Linked DNA regions of Homo sapiens: regions 2, 3, 4 and 5 are each linked to region 1. Evidence: promoter capture Hi-C in 16 types of primary human blood cells and fetal thymus (Javierre and others, 2016). All regions are on one chromosome and are shown on one strand. The core of a region is centred on a gene start or on the middle of the fragment in contact, and the rest is flanking DNA. Distances in the headings are between cores, read along the strand shown.

The links. Contacts are between HindIII fragments. The CHiCAGO score rates a contact against its expected background, and 5 or more counts as called.
Region 2: a fragment that was not itself captured here is called in contact with the fragment with the promoter of ZNF703 in region 1 in 4 of 17 cell types (M2 macrophages, M1 macrophages, M0 macrophages and 1 more); the score reaches 16.6 in M2 macrophages.
Region 3: a fragment that was not itself captured here is called in contact with the fragment with the promoter of ZNF703 in region 1 in 4 of 17 cell types (M1 macrophages, M2 macrophages, M0 macrophages and 1 more); the score reaches 9.4 in M1 macrophages.
Region 4: a fragment that was not itself captured here is called in contact with the fragment with the promoter of ZNF703 in region 1 in 5 of 17 cell types (monocytes, M0 macrophages, M2 macrophages and 2 more); the score reaches 10.1 in monocytes.
Region 5: a contact is called between a fragment that was not itself captured here and the fragment with the promoter of ZNF703 in region 1, in 7 of 17 cell types (monocytes, naive B cells, total B cells and 4 more). The highest score is 9.5, in monocytes.

What each region holds. Positions count from the first base shown.
Region 1 is chr8:37,694,492-37,697,121 of GRCh38, forward strand. It overlaps ZNF703 (zinc finger protein 703), which reads left to right and starts at 1,291. Exons shown (of 2, transcript NM_025069.3): 1 at 1,291-1,731. The coding sequence starts at 1,489. LOC124901932 (a long non-coding RNA gene) reads left to right here. Exons shown (of 2, transcript XR_007060887.1): 2 at 1-292. LOC124901933 (a long non-coding RNA gene) reads right to left here and starts at 1,190. Exons shown (of 2, transcript XR_007060888.1): 1 at 949-1,190; 2 at 254-492. RefSeq lists silencers at 1-114, 902-1,251, 1,302-1,401 and enhancers at 1,136-1,679, 1,680-2,222. The HindIII fragment of the contact is 16,475 bases long and covers 1-2,630 here.
Region 2 is chr8:37,319,782-37,322,411 of GRCh38, forward strand. No RefSeq gene overlaps it. Among named protein-coding and RNA genes, the nearest start is that of LINC01605, 280 kb to the right of the region's middle. The HindIII fragment of the contact is 521 bases long and covers 1,024-1,544 here.
Region 3 is chr8:37,336,802-37,339,431 of GRCh38, forward strand. No RefSeq gene overlaps it. Among named protein-coding and RNA genes, the nearest start is that of LINC01605, 260 kb to the right of the region's middle. The HindIII fragment of the contact is 2,058 bases long and covers 314-2,371 here.
Region 4 is chr8:37,360,347-37,362,976 of GRCh38, forward strand. No RefSeq gene overlaps it. Among named protein-coding and RNA genes, the nearest start is that of LINC01605, 240 kb to the right of the region's middle. The HindIII fragment of the contact is 5,070 bases long and covers 1-2,630 here.
Region 5 is chr8:37,413,110-37,415,739 of GRCh38, forward strand. All of the region lies in intron 4 of LINC01605 (long intergenic non-protein coding RNA 1605), which reads right to left. Among named protein-coding and RNA genes, the nearest start is that of LINC01605, 190 kb to the right of the region's middle. The HindIII fragment of the contact is 7,799 bases long and covers 1-2,630 here.

The sequences.
Region 1 (2,630 bases), core at 41-2,540:
TGACAACCGGAGTGATGGATCGGGACTGGAAAAGTGGTGCTGGGAGCCAGGCAGTGACACCAGCGCGCCTCCACTGGCCGCCGAGCGCACGGAGAAGTGGGCTCCCCAGAGTTCGGCACCCAAAGGACCAACTTCGCCTCCGGAAAAGCGGCGGATCCGGAACTTGGATGTCAGGACTATGACTACGTAAAATCTCTGCCCAGGGCGAAGCTAGCAATGCACACTGTATCAGAAAGGCGCAGGGAGTCGGGAAGGGTATTGTTATTTTTAATTAAAAGTTTTTATCCCGAAATTTGCCTGGGGAAAGCAAGTGCTTTTTCCCCCGGAGTGAGAAGGATGGGGGGGCGGAGGGGTTGTGTTGCCGAGCAGCGCTTAGAGAGAGATCCCCCTCCAGGGACACCCGCCTCGCCCGTGATCTCGGTCTCTCCTCGTAGCAGCTGGGCGCGGTACAGTGAGGAACTTCACGCCCCTCAGCAGGACACGGTAAGAAGCCTGTAACACACCAGACACCGAGCCTCTAACGCAGGGCGCAGGCACAGCGCGCACAGCCTGGGGTCCCGCGCTTGGTCGCCGACCATGTCACTCCAGAAGGGAGACAAACTTGCAGGCTTCAGACAAGACGGGCTCAAAGTAGTTGGAGCTGCCTACGCCGCGTCCCGAGAACAGTGGGTGCCTCCGAGGCTCGGGCGCTTCCAAGTGAACACACCAAGGGGAGGCCAAGTAGGGGAAGGAGAGCGGGGCCGAGGAGAGCCGGAGCAGCTCTGGAGAAGGACCCGGGCTCCCGAGGCGAGGCCTGCCCCCAGGCGGCCTCTGGGAGAGGCTTGAACTCCAGCGTCCCAGAGCCCGCGCCGTGCGATCCCTCCCACCCCACCCCACCCCACCCCACCCCACCTCGGACACACACGGCGGGCGGGGTTACAGCCCCCGCCAGCATCACCCCCCACCCACCCAGTGGTGAGAAGGGAGAGAGGAGAGAGAGCGGCCGGAAAGGAGGACGGGGCGCAGAGCTCAGGGTCCCGGAGAAGTCCCGTCCCAGGCGGGGGACCCCAGGGCGAGGAAGGCCCAGTCGGGGGGAGGGGAGGAATCCCGGGAGCGGCCGAGACCGAGGCAGCGGCGGCGCGCGGCGCGGCCCCTTTAAGGCTCTCCCCGCCCACCGATGGAGCCGGCCTCAGCCCGCCGCTCTCCCCGCCCCGGGGTCCCGGCGAGAGCTGCGATTGGGCGGGCGCGGCGATCCCTTTGAAGTGTGGCTGCCGATCGCGGCTATTTGACGTGCGGCTCGAGGAAGGCGAAGGTTTTTGTGTTGCTAGCCGGGGCCAGCGGCGGTGGCGGCGGCGGCGGAGGCGTCGGTGGAGGAGGGGAGGCGGCGAGGAGGCGCAGCTCCCGCTGCACCGCGATCGACGCTGCGGAGCGAGCCCACCCGCCCCGGGAGCTCGCCTCCCCGGTGCTCCCCCGCCCTCCCCGCCCCCCCAGCGGCGCTGCCTCCTCCAAATGAGCGATTCGCCCGCTGGATCTAACCCAAGGACACCCGAAAGCAGCGGCAGCGGCAGCGGCGGCGGCGGGAAGAGGCCGGCGGTGCCGGCAGCGGTGTCCCTCTTGCCACCGGCGGACCCCCTGCGCCAGGCGAACCGGCTCCCGATCAGGGTCCTGAAGATGCTGAGCGCTCACACCGGTCACCTCCTGCACCCGGAGTACCTGCAGCCGCTGTCCTCCACTCCCGTCAGCCCCATTGAGGTCAGTCCCCGGCCGCTGCCCCCGGGCGCCGGCCCCATTCCTCCCACCGCGACCGGGACCCTGACCCAGCTCCCAGCGCCCCGGGGCTCGGTGCGACACCCAAGTCTGGTCACGCTGGCGGGCTGAGTGAGGAGGGGAAGAAAACCGAGGGATCAGAGCCCACCAGGGCTTCCCCAGGCTTCCCCGTGGAAGGGTCTCCTTCCACGCTCGCCCTTCGGAGCTCCGTGTTTTCTCTCGGATTGGATTTGCTCCTGGAGTCCCCTCTGGGTCCTTTACTTTTCCTCTGATCCCCAGTTTCCAGCCAGGAGTTGGTCTCTGCTGGGTCTTCCCCGCCCCCCACGCCGGGCTGTTTTCTTTGAAGCCCTGGCTGCCCGGGTCCCACTTCGCCTCTGTCCCATCCGGTGAGGGCGCACGGCGCCCTGGCGCTCCCGATCCCGGATCTTTCTTCCTGCCTCTTCCCTGGGTGCCCTCCCCGGGAGGGAGGGGCTACGGAGAGAGCGCCAACTGCAGCCCCTCCTTTAGAATCCGCGCTCCCCTCTCCTACCCCGCGGCGCCATCGCCAGAAACCCGTCCCAAGCGAAGTTCCCCCAAACTAAAGGAATAAGTTTTTTCCTGGGCCTGGAGGAGGGGGACATTAGAGGGAAGTGGCGAGTCACAGCCCCGACTCCAGAGACGTCACCTTCTCCCGCAGGGGTCCTGGGTGAACTCCTTCCGCAGGGCCTGCGGCGCACCCCGGGACCCAGCGGCAGTGTGGGCGCAGTTCCGCCAGCTGCCGCGCCCGGCCCGGCCCTCGCTCGCAGACCCTCTCCCCAGGCCCGCCCCGCCCCGTGGCGCCGCCGCCCAGCTCCCCGGGCGCCCCCGCTCGCCCCGCAGGCCTCTGAGTCTCACTCCTTCTCCCT
Region 2 (2,630 bases), core at 34-2,533, 370 kb before region 1:
ATTGGATAAGTGAACCTGACTGGGGACTTGGGAAGGCTTCAGGTAGAGCCAGCTTCGCGTACTTGAATGTCATCCTTAATCTGTGGCCTGCTAAGAGTCTCCAGTTTTTGTATGGATAATGCCCGGACTATGACAACTTGCCTTGAAACTCCCTCTATTAAACAACCAAAACACATTCATAGCTATTGTTGACCTAAAAGGAAGAATCTGAGGCCACATTAGTGTAAGTAGAAAGGTATTTGGGCCAAACTTGAAATTGCAACTCGGGAGCACAGAATCAAGTTGTCCTGAATATACACTTTGATTAGCAGCAGTTACAAGTGGATTTTTAAAGGCAAAACAGGGGACAAGGAGTGGATTGATACAAAGTTGTTCGTCAGGAATTCTCACTGGTTTACAGAAATAACATTGATTAGTGATTGGCTAGACATTGTTAAGCAATAGGTTGTGGCTGATAGTGTCTGGTGTGGCATTATGAGGTTAATTTATAGCCTGTAGTAATAGCAAGCAGTTTCAAGAGAAGAATACGTAGCTCAAGGGGGAAGTAGGATGTGATTGCTGTCTCATTTTAATATCTCTCTGGGCCTGCTAATTAAAAGGACTCCCATTCCTCAGATAAAAGTTCTTTTCTTTTCTCACCATCCAGTAAACAACCAGTCCCAATATTGATGCTCAATGAGACACTGGCCAGCTGGCTGGTAAAGTTTAGCAGCATCTCAACTGACTTGATCCGCTCTGCATTTAGAGCAGGGACTGGCCAGTGCAAAGAAGGAGGAGGAGGTGCTACTTTAACTACACTTCCCCCATTATTTGCGATTCAAAAACTTCCATTGAACAACCTCATTGAACTGGCCGTGCAAATTTCCTAAATATTTTCTAAATGAATGACCATAAATTTGAAAGCAAATTCAAGGTCCCTGGGGCAATGGAAAAAGTCTACAAGGAAAATCCACAAGGTAGAAGAGGGGCCTTATCCAGTATAACCCAAGAAGAAGAATCATAAAGGGGAAGTAGTCAAAACAAAGCTTTATATCATTTGGTTTTGCATAATTAATAAATGTCTGTAATCACATTTATTTGTATTTCATCTAGTTCCATTTCAACATCAAATTTTGATAATTCATGGTATGAAAATGGAAATTAAAAGTTCAGCACTATGATTTTTCTATGAATAATTAGGAATAGAAATAAGAAGAAATGGAGATTCAAAGTATCTTGGCTAATTCTTTGTACATATCCCTTCCAGAAGTCAAGATTAATTCTCCTTTCCTTGAGAGTGAGCTAGACATAGTGATTCACTTCTATCAAATAGAATATGGCAAAAGTGATGGTATATGACTCCCAGGTCAAAAGGAGCATTATTGCTTTCTCCTGGCTATATCTTGGATCACTTGCTTTTGAGGAAATCAGCTGCCACATGGTAAGAAAACTCAAGCAAACTTTTTCAGAGGTCCATGTGGCAATAGCCTGCCAATAGCCAGAGAGGAACCAAGGCCATGTTAGGAAGTGAGTCATCTTGGGAAGAACTTCTCTAGCCCTGCTCAAGCTTCAGAGGATGTCAACTTAGCCAATGTCTTAAATGCAACCTCATGAAAGATGCTGAGTCAGAATCACCCATATATAAGCTGTTCCCAAATTCCTGTCCCACATAAACTGCAAGATAGTAACCACTACACTTTGGGTAATGTCATATAGAGCAACAGATAACTGATACAGAAGATGAGATACCTTGATGCTCCAAACAAGATTAAAACTGACGACCAAAAGTTGTGGCAGACTTTTTCACACCAACCAGAAGCTACAGCTACTGTCTGAATGAAAGGAAAAACTTGCCTCTCTCGGCTTGTTTGGCTGGGTCCTCTTATCCCACACATTAAGCCCATAGGGACTCTTCCATAGCCCTTCCTATGGGAGGGGCTACGGAAGATCTCCTAGCCAGAGATCTTTCCCATGGCCTCAGACAAAATTTTAAAGAAGACCCAACCTGCCAATAAGTTAAAACATGCTGCTGTTATCACCATCAACCCTCTAAGCAAATCCCTCCATTTTTGGTAGTTGGGAGTAAAATTCATCATTCTATAGCCATAAAACAACACATTCCAAGAGCATCTTTTTGCCTTCCCAACTTCTCTTATAAGTTGTTAATACAGCTTGAGTCGAGTGTAAGTTATTCAGTATACCTATTTGGGAAGCAGGATATTTCTAGGGGTCATCAAAAGGGAGGAAACCCTCCTTCTGCCCTATGAATAACTCCCCTTAATTTTATCTATATGGCGGGGGCAGTTAGAGACAAGAGAGGACCTATGGTTTCCATGTATTGAACTCTGCTAACATGAAGTTCAACTATATCCCCACCTCCTCCCTCTTTGCTTGTTACTCCTCCAGTTTTTGCACATGTAAGATGCCCTCCTTCTGAGTCCCTTTCCTAATGGCACAGCACAGGCAGCTTTTGTGAGTAGCTACTTCTCCTCCCAGCAGGCAAAATAATGTCTGTCCTAGTGAAAATTAACTAGGGAGGCCAAAGGCCTGTAAATTGCCATAGGACCAAACCAGATCCACTTTCCTGCTTTTTATATAGTATCAGCAAGATCAATGACATTTGTTCTGAGGCCTGACAGGTATTAAATTCA
Region 3 (2,630 bases), core at 93-2,592, 360 kb before region 1:
ATCTCTCCCCCTTGAGTGTGATATGGATCTAGTGACTCACTTCTAATGAACAGAATACAGCAAAAGTGATGGGTTGTCTCTTCAGAGATTAGATTACAAAAGGCTGTGAGTTCTGTCTCATATTCACTTGCTCTCTCTCTCTCTCTCTCTCTTTGATGAAGCAAGCCACCATGTGGTGAGCTGCCCTACTGAGAAGCTCACATAGCAAGGAGGGCAGCCTCCAGCCTGCAGCCACTGAGAAACTGAGGTCCACAGGGACTGAACCCTGCCAATAACCTCTTGATGAGCTTGGAAGTCAATCCACCCCCAGTTAAGCTTGGAGATGACTGCAGGCCCAGCCATCACCTTGACTACAGCCTCACGGCCAACCCAGAAGCAGAGAGCCCGGCTAAGTGATGGCCAGGTTCCTGACTCACAGAAACTATGAGATAATAAATGTGATTTGTTTTAAGTCACTAAGTTTTGGGGTAACTTATTACATCACAATAGATAAAAATGTTCATTGTCATTTTCTAATATTATTTTCAAGACATTTCTATTATATTTTGTAGTATGTCTATTATTATTTTCTAATATTATTTTCTAGACATATTTTCCATAACTGTTTTCTAGACATATTTTCTAATTTATTTATTAGAAGAGACAATGAAGGGAGACACACTCAGAAAGATTAAGACCAAGAGAAGGTTGAAAGTCTTGCCGTTGGTATAATACATCTTGGCAGGGGTGAGCCTTTCCATGGACAGCTGGGTCTCTACAGAATGTTAGAGCAGAGACCCTGGAAAAACCCTCCACTCTTTGATGTGTTCGCTTATGTTGAAATTCTGCAATTAGTCTTTTCTGTACCTTAAAGTTCTTTCCTCTTATTAAATACACTACACTTGGAGTCAGACAACACAAAATCTCATCCCAGGTTCTTACTTCATTAACTGTGTGATTCTTAATAAGTCATTTATGTATCCCTCAAACTATGTTTAAGGAACAAAAATATGAATTTTGGAAATTTACTTTTCTATGTCCATGTTTCATTTTAGAAGAGGAATAAATAACACCTGACTTATAGAACTCATGGGACACTTTGAGGTAGTTAAATGTGGTAAGATGGTTGCAAGTGTCTTTTAAATAATAAAGAACTCGCACGGTGGCTGAAGCCTGTAATCCCAGCACTCTGAACGGCCAAGACGGGCAGGTCACCTGAGGTCAGGAGTTCAAGACCAGCCTGACCAACATGGCAAAACCCCATCTCTACTAAAAATACAAAGTTAGCTGGGTGTGGTGGCGGGTGCCTGTAATCCCAACTACTTGGGAGGTTGAGGCAGGAGAATTGCTTGAACCCAGGAGGCAGAGGTTGCAGTGACCCAGGATGGAGCCATTGCACTCCAGCCTGGGCAACAGGAGTGAAACTCCGTCTCAAAATAAATAAATAAATAAATAACAATAAAGAACTCTGTACAGAAAAGGAACATTTTAAGTCTCTTTTGTGGGCTCTCCCATATGGGACACTCTCCAAACTATCATTAGACTGCTATGTTAAGTAAGATAGACTTTTATAAGGCCTTTTCCTGGAAGTAGCTTTTAGGGAGGAAGTTGAAGTAGAAGAAAATCAGCCTTTCAGATGCACTGATTTAATCTTCCCTACAGCTCATAAGGCAGACACTCATTATTCCCCTTTTACTGATGTTGAAACCAAGGCTTAGAGACCTCAAGAAACTTGCTGTTAGTCACACAGCGATTAAGGGACTGAGTCACACAGCGATTAAGGGACTGAGTCCAGAGTCAATGCACAGTAACCTGGAGGGCCAAGCCCTATTCTGTAAGATGCATTTTCTTGTACTCTCTGCTTCGCACCTTCCAGAAGAGCAATTTCTGGCCTTTCTCCTTCTTTGTTTCTATGTTCCCATCAAACATGCTGTGACACTTCACACAAACAGCCACGTACACAAATCAATTGCAATCAGCTGTATTTCTCTCCTGATGTTAAAAGACTCGTAAAGGAAAATGCACTTGTTTCAAACACCCTTTTCTGACACTAAATCAACTCTCCACCATTGGTGGAATTTCTGCACAAATTGAGCTGGGCCCTCATGAGACCAAGATTTACCAGTATAAATCCCAGGTTTGTAGGGGCTGTCTAGTTGCATTACTAGAAAGAGCTGATCTGGCGGCTGAGTTTTCTGTGCATGGGTTGGTTGCATCTTCTTGACTCCTAATTCAAGCCAGGACACTTGGCAACTCACTTTCTAGTAAGTGATGTGGAGGCTGCCAGGGGTGGGTGTGGTCAGTGCCAAGAGCTGTCCTTACCCCATCACATCTCACCACTGCAACCCAAGGAAATGTCAATCAGAACTACTGTCTTCTGCAGAAACATCCAAGCTTCCTAATAATACATTGCACAGGAATCATGGTTCTCATGGGATACTCACCAAATCTGTTTCATCCATAGCGACTTTGCTTCTTTGATGCCTATCAGGCATGCTGACATCTACAGAAACTTCACAGGTTCCAGGGCTGCAGTTAACTCTGTGACCCTGAACACCCACAATTTCTCCTTGCCTTAGTTTCTCTTATTTAGATCTGCCCTCCGAATCAGCTTCCTTATTTATACAGTGAGAATATGAATATCTTCTGTA
Region 4 (2,630 bases), core at 52-2,551, 330 kb before region 1:
ATGGGTCTGCAAAGGGGCCCATCTCCCTTTGCCTCCCTAACCAAAGAGCAGAAAAGCTGATGCTCCTGCTAGTGGCAGCTAGAGGGACCTCGGGTCCAGCCGGGAGCCATCCCACTGAGAGGCAGCAGCAGGAGAGAGGAAAGTCCTTTCAGCAGTGGGCCTGATGCATACGTGGCCTTCACCTGCTCTAGGTCGGCTCCCAGCGCTGGGCGGAAGGCGTTTAAGTCTATTTGACTGTCCCTGTCATCGTAAGGTTTACGGATGGTTAATTTATTCTTTATAGCACAGTCATTGATGGCTGTTAAATCACAAATGAGAGCCAATAAAGGGTGAATTGCAGCTGAAATTACACTGTTTATATGACAGCAGAGTGCCGGCTAAAAGATTCATATGCTGCTGATGAAGTATGTTATAAATTTTAATTACCATAGTTTGTACAAATGACATGTTTGAAATGCTATTGAGTAATGTGACCCTGATAATGAAACTATAAAATAAATCATTAACTTTCTGAATGAGCTTTTTTATTTCAGTGCTGCACAGAGTAAACTTTTCAGTTTATTCCAGATCAGTCTTTTTATGCCCCCACCTTCTGCCTCTGGCCTAACCGACTCTTCTCCACCCAGGTTGGGGACAGAGGAGTGACAGGAGGCCTGGGAAAAGCCTGGGGAATCTTCCTGGCAGGACTGACCCCAGCAGACACAGCTCAGGGGCTGGGGAAGGGAGAGTTAGCCAGGAATGGGGGTCCAGACATGCACCTTAAATAAGCCCCATAAAGTTGCCCACCTGTGAGAAGAAAGGACTTTTTTGAACCTGCAGACCCTCTAAAGATCCCCATCCACTGGCAACTGGGCTCTGAGACTGAAGCACCCAACAGAGCCACCTGCAGCAACACCCCAGATGCATCAGACCCTTGGGGAGACAGGCTACAGGGCGGGTGAGAGATTCACGAGAATACTGGGTCAATTTTCCCAGCCCACAGCCCAATTAGGAGTCCAGAAGAGAGAAGGCAAGATGGCATTTGGTGGATTTTCCCACTGCTAAATCATCCCTATTTCAATACATTGGTCCATCATGTTGATGAATAATCCCCTCACACTACTCACAAGGCACATGTCACTGTGGTTAGACACATCTTGCAGAAAAGAGCCTGCAGCTCCAGAAGAAATCTGAAAGAGGAAGTCACACCAAAAGCCATTTTGGGCAACTCCCCACTCCAGGAAATCAGGGCTGAAACTCTCCAAGCAGGCATGTCCCTCTTAGTCCTGCAGGGCAGGAAATGCTTTGGTAGCTTAAGCAAAGTCATGTGCTCACGGGTCATCAGCGCATCAAGAGAACTTGGACATCCTTTAGCCCTAAAACTCTCAATGTGGTGGGGGAAAAAAATGCAGGGGAAGAGGTTTGATTCCCAAATATATAAATTCCAGAAGAAAATAATATAATACAAGTGGCCAAGAAACATATGAAAAAAATGCTCATCATCACTAATCATCAGAGAAATGCAAATCAAAACCAAAATGAGACACCATCTCACATCAGTCATAAGGGCTATTACTAAAAAGTCAGAAAATAACAGATGTTGGTGAGGCTGTGGAGAAAAGAGAATGCTTATACATTGCTGGTGAGAATGTAAATCTGTCCAGCCACTGTGGAAAGAAGTCCAGAGATTTTTCAAAGAATGTAAAACAAAGCTATCATTTGACCCAGCAATTCCATTACTGGGTATATACTCAAAAGAAAATAGGTCATTCAACCAAAAAGACACATGCACTCATGTGTTTATTGCTGAGCTATTCACAATAGCAAAAACATGGAATCAACCCGGGTGCCTATCAATGGTAGATTGGATAAAGAAAATGTGATACATATACACCTGGAATACTATGCAGCCATAAAAAGAATGAAATCATGTCCTTTGTAGCAACATGGATGGAGCTGGAGGCCATAATCTTAAGCAAATTAACACAGGAACAGAAAACCAAATATCATACTTTTTCACTTGTAAGTGGGAGCTGAACACTGAGCATACATGGACATCAAGGTGGGAACAATAGACACTGGGGAATGCCAGAGGGTGGGAGGGTGAGTTTAAAAACTACCTCTCGGGTCCTGTGCTTACTACCTGGGTGACAGAATCTGTACTCTCAACCTCAGCATCACACAATATTCCCATGTAACACATCTGCATATATATCCTCTGTATTTAAAATAAGAATGGAAAAGAATGAGTTCATGTCCTTTGCAGGGACATGGATGAAGCTGGAAACCATCATCCTCAGCAAACTAACCTAGGAACAGGAAACCAAACACTGCATGTTCTCACTCATAAATGGGAGTTGAACAATGAGAACACATGGACACAGGGAGGGGAACAACACACAGTAGGGCCTGTCGAGGGGTGAGGGGAAAGGGGAGGGAAAGCATTAGGACAAATACCTAATGCATGCAGTGCTTAAAGTCCAGATGATGGGTTGATAGGTACAGCAAACCACCATAGCACATACATACCTATGTAACAAACTTGCAAGTTCAGTGCATATATCCTAGAACTTAAAGTAAAAAATCAAATAAAATAAATAAAATAAAGTTGAAATTTAAAAAAGAAAATATAAAGTTTGAAAAAACCCTCA
Region 5 (2,630 bases), core at 86-2,585, 280 kb before region 1:
CAAGCAACACAACAGAGACCCAGCAAGGAACCATCCCATGAGATTCGAGAGTTGACCCCAACTCGGCACTGCACCCTCTTTGGAGCCAAACAGCTAACTTGGAAATGTGAATGGAGAAGTGATACAAAGAGTTGGAGAGGAGGGCCTATGAAACAACTGCAGGGCCCAGAATTAATTAGTCCAGAGTGGGAAAGTCTAGGAGAGAGGATGAATTGATTTAACTGTAGGCTTCAAGCCAATGGTAGGCTGTCTTGACCTCCAAGAATGGTGCCAACTGGTCCTCTCCAAGTCACTTGAGGATAAAAGAGCAAGGAATGGACATGCCAAACCCAGATTTATCTCTTTGTAATCCTTGGCTTTAAAACCTATGATGGTGGATGATGGGAGATTGCTTGGTGGGTACAATGTGCGTTGCTCCAGTGATGGAGGCACTGAAGGCCCTGACTTTACCACAATGCAACATACGTGTTATGGTTTGGATGTGTGTCCCCTCCAAATCTCATGTGAAATGTGACCTCCAATGTTGCATTGAAGAAGAGTGGGCTCAGCAGGAGGTGGGCCTAGTGGGAGGTGTTTGGTTCTCGGGGGCAGATTCCCCATGAATGGCTTGGTGTCCTCCCCATGGTAATGAGTGGTAATGGATGATTAATGAGTTCACAGGGGTGCCGGTTGTTTAAGAGAGGCTCGGACCTCCCTCCCCTCTCTCTTGCTCCCTGACTCACCATGTGACACGTCCACTCCCCCTTCACCTTCTGCCATGAGTAAAAGCATCCTGAGGCTTCCCTGGAAGTCAAGCAGATGCTGGTGCCCTGCTTCCTGTACAGCCTGCAGAACTGTGAGCCAAATAAACCTCTTTTCTGTGTAAATTACCCAGCCTCAGGTATTTCTTTATAGCAGCACAAGAACAGACTAACACAATATCAATGTAGCAAAGTTACAGTTGTACCCCATAAATATATACTAATTTTAAAAAAGAAAAAACAAAATAAAATAAAACCTATGAAGAGCAGCTTCTTTGCTCCTGTTTCCTTAGCCTTCCTGCCTCTGTCTCTCACACCCAGGAGTAGCCCATTTCTAGATGGTAATTTGGCTAGCCACATTCTTCCGACACCTGATATCCAAAACATCCCAGAGTACAGAGGATGGAAGTGACCTTGAGTGGCCCTTTAGCTCATCCTCTGCCTCTGGGTACCTCAAGTGTATAAGCAGGTTTCTAAACTTACTTGATATTACCAGGTAAGCATCACAGCCCATCTAAAGTATAATCTGGTCCAAAAACATCATTGTGAAAGACACCCTACAATGGCCTCTTATAACAACCTCTTAAAGAAAAATTTAAAACTAAAAGGTGTATAAAGAAACATTTAAAAAAAAAGAAAAAAGAAGATGTTCTGGAAGAAATACACAGGATTCCTCACCAGAGTCCACAGAAACAGCTAGAGAAGCAAGGCTACCTCTTGGGCCCTTGGAGGCCAGAAGTGGGACTCATACCCCCTCCTCCTCTAGTCTGCACCCTCTTTACCTTCTCACCTACTAGAGGATATGGCCAGAGGACATGAGGGGCCTGTGTGGTTCCAGCTTACCAACCCCAGAGGAAAGGGCTCTGTCACTCTCACAGGCAAGAATGGTTTGGGATCTAGGTTAAATCAGCAGCTGTGAAATCCTGCCTGCTGATGTGGTGGAATCACTGGCTCCCTAAGTAGGAGGCAGCACTGGGTACTCATCAGAATCTGGTCTCTAGAGATGGAGGACTTGGAACTGAGCATGTCACCTAACCTCCCTGTGGCTAAGTTTACTCATCTGTAAAATGACAGTGATCATACTACCTACCTACCTCATGCAGTTGCTGAGAGGATTAAATAAGTTAATGTGTATAAAGTGATCTGTATAGTGCCTGGCACACCTTTAACTATTAGTTGTTTACTAGTTCTTAAAAGACTCTTTCTTTTTGGTTGTCATGAAGTAGGCTGTTCCCAAGTCCAAATTCACACTCTGAAATTGTCATCATGGTAGAATAAATACTATTATTTATTACATAGTATTAACAGGCCATCAGACTCTTATCAAATATCCTACTGGGTTATATGGATATTTTATCCATTAGGCAGAAAGCGCAAATTCTGAAACTTATATGTTATAAACTGAATAAAAATACAAACTTATTTAGACCAAGACCTTTATAAAATTATTTAATAAAATAATCTATGCATATCAAATAATTTCTGGCAGATGCATGAAAAAAGAAAGATTTATTAAATAATCTTTTTACGTCATTGCTACCCATGGTCTCTACTTGAATTTTGTTATATTTTTCTTCCAGCTATTTCTCTATATTCTAGTGGAATTTTAACCTAATTATAACCATTCTATGTGTCATCATTTCCCAAAACATTCTCCCGCAGAACACCAATGTTCAAAGATAGTAATAGATGTTGGTTGGATAAAGGACTCCAGAGTGAAACAAGTTCAAGAAGCAATAGGTTAAGCCACAACACTTCTCAGAACCTTCAGTGCTGATGAGCATCATGAAGTCTTGAGAGGGGCGTGTGATACCAAGTATTTCCAAATATATTTGACATGGGAGTAGTGTTCCAAAAAACATGCTTGGAAAAATGCTACTCTACAATTTT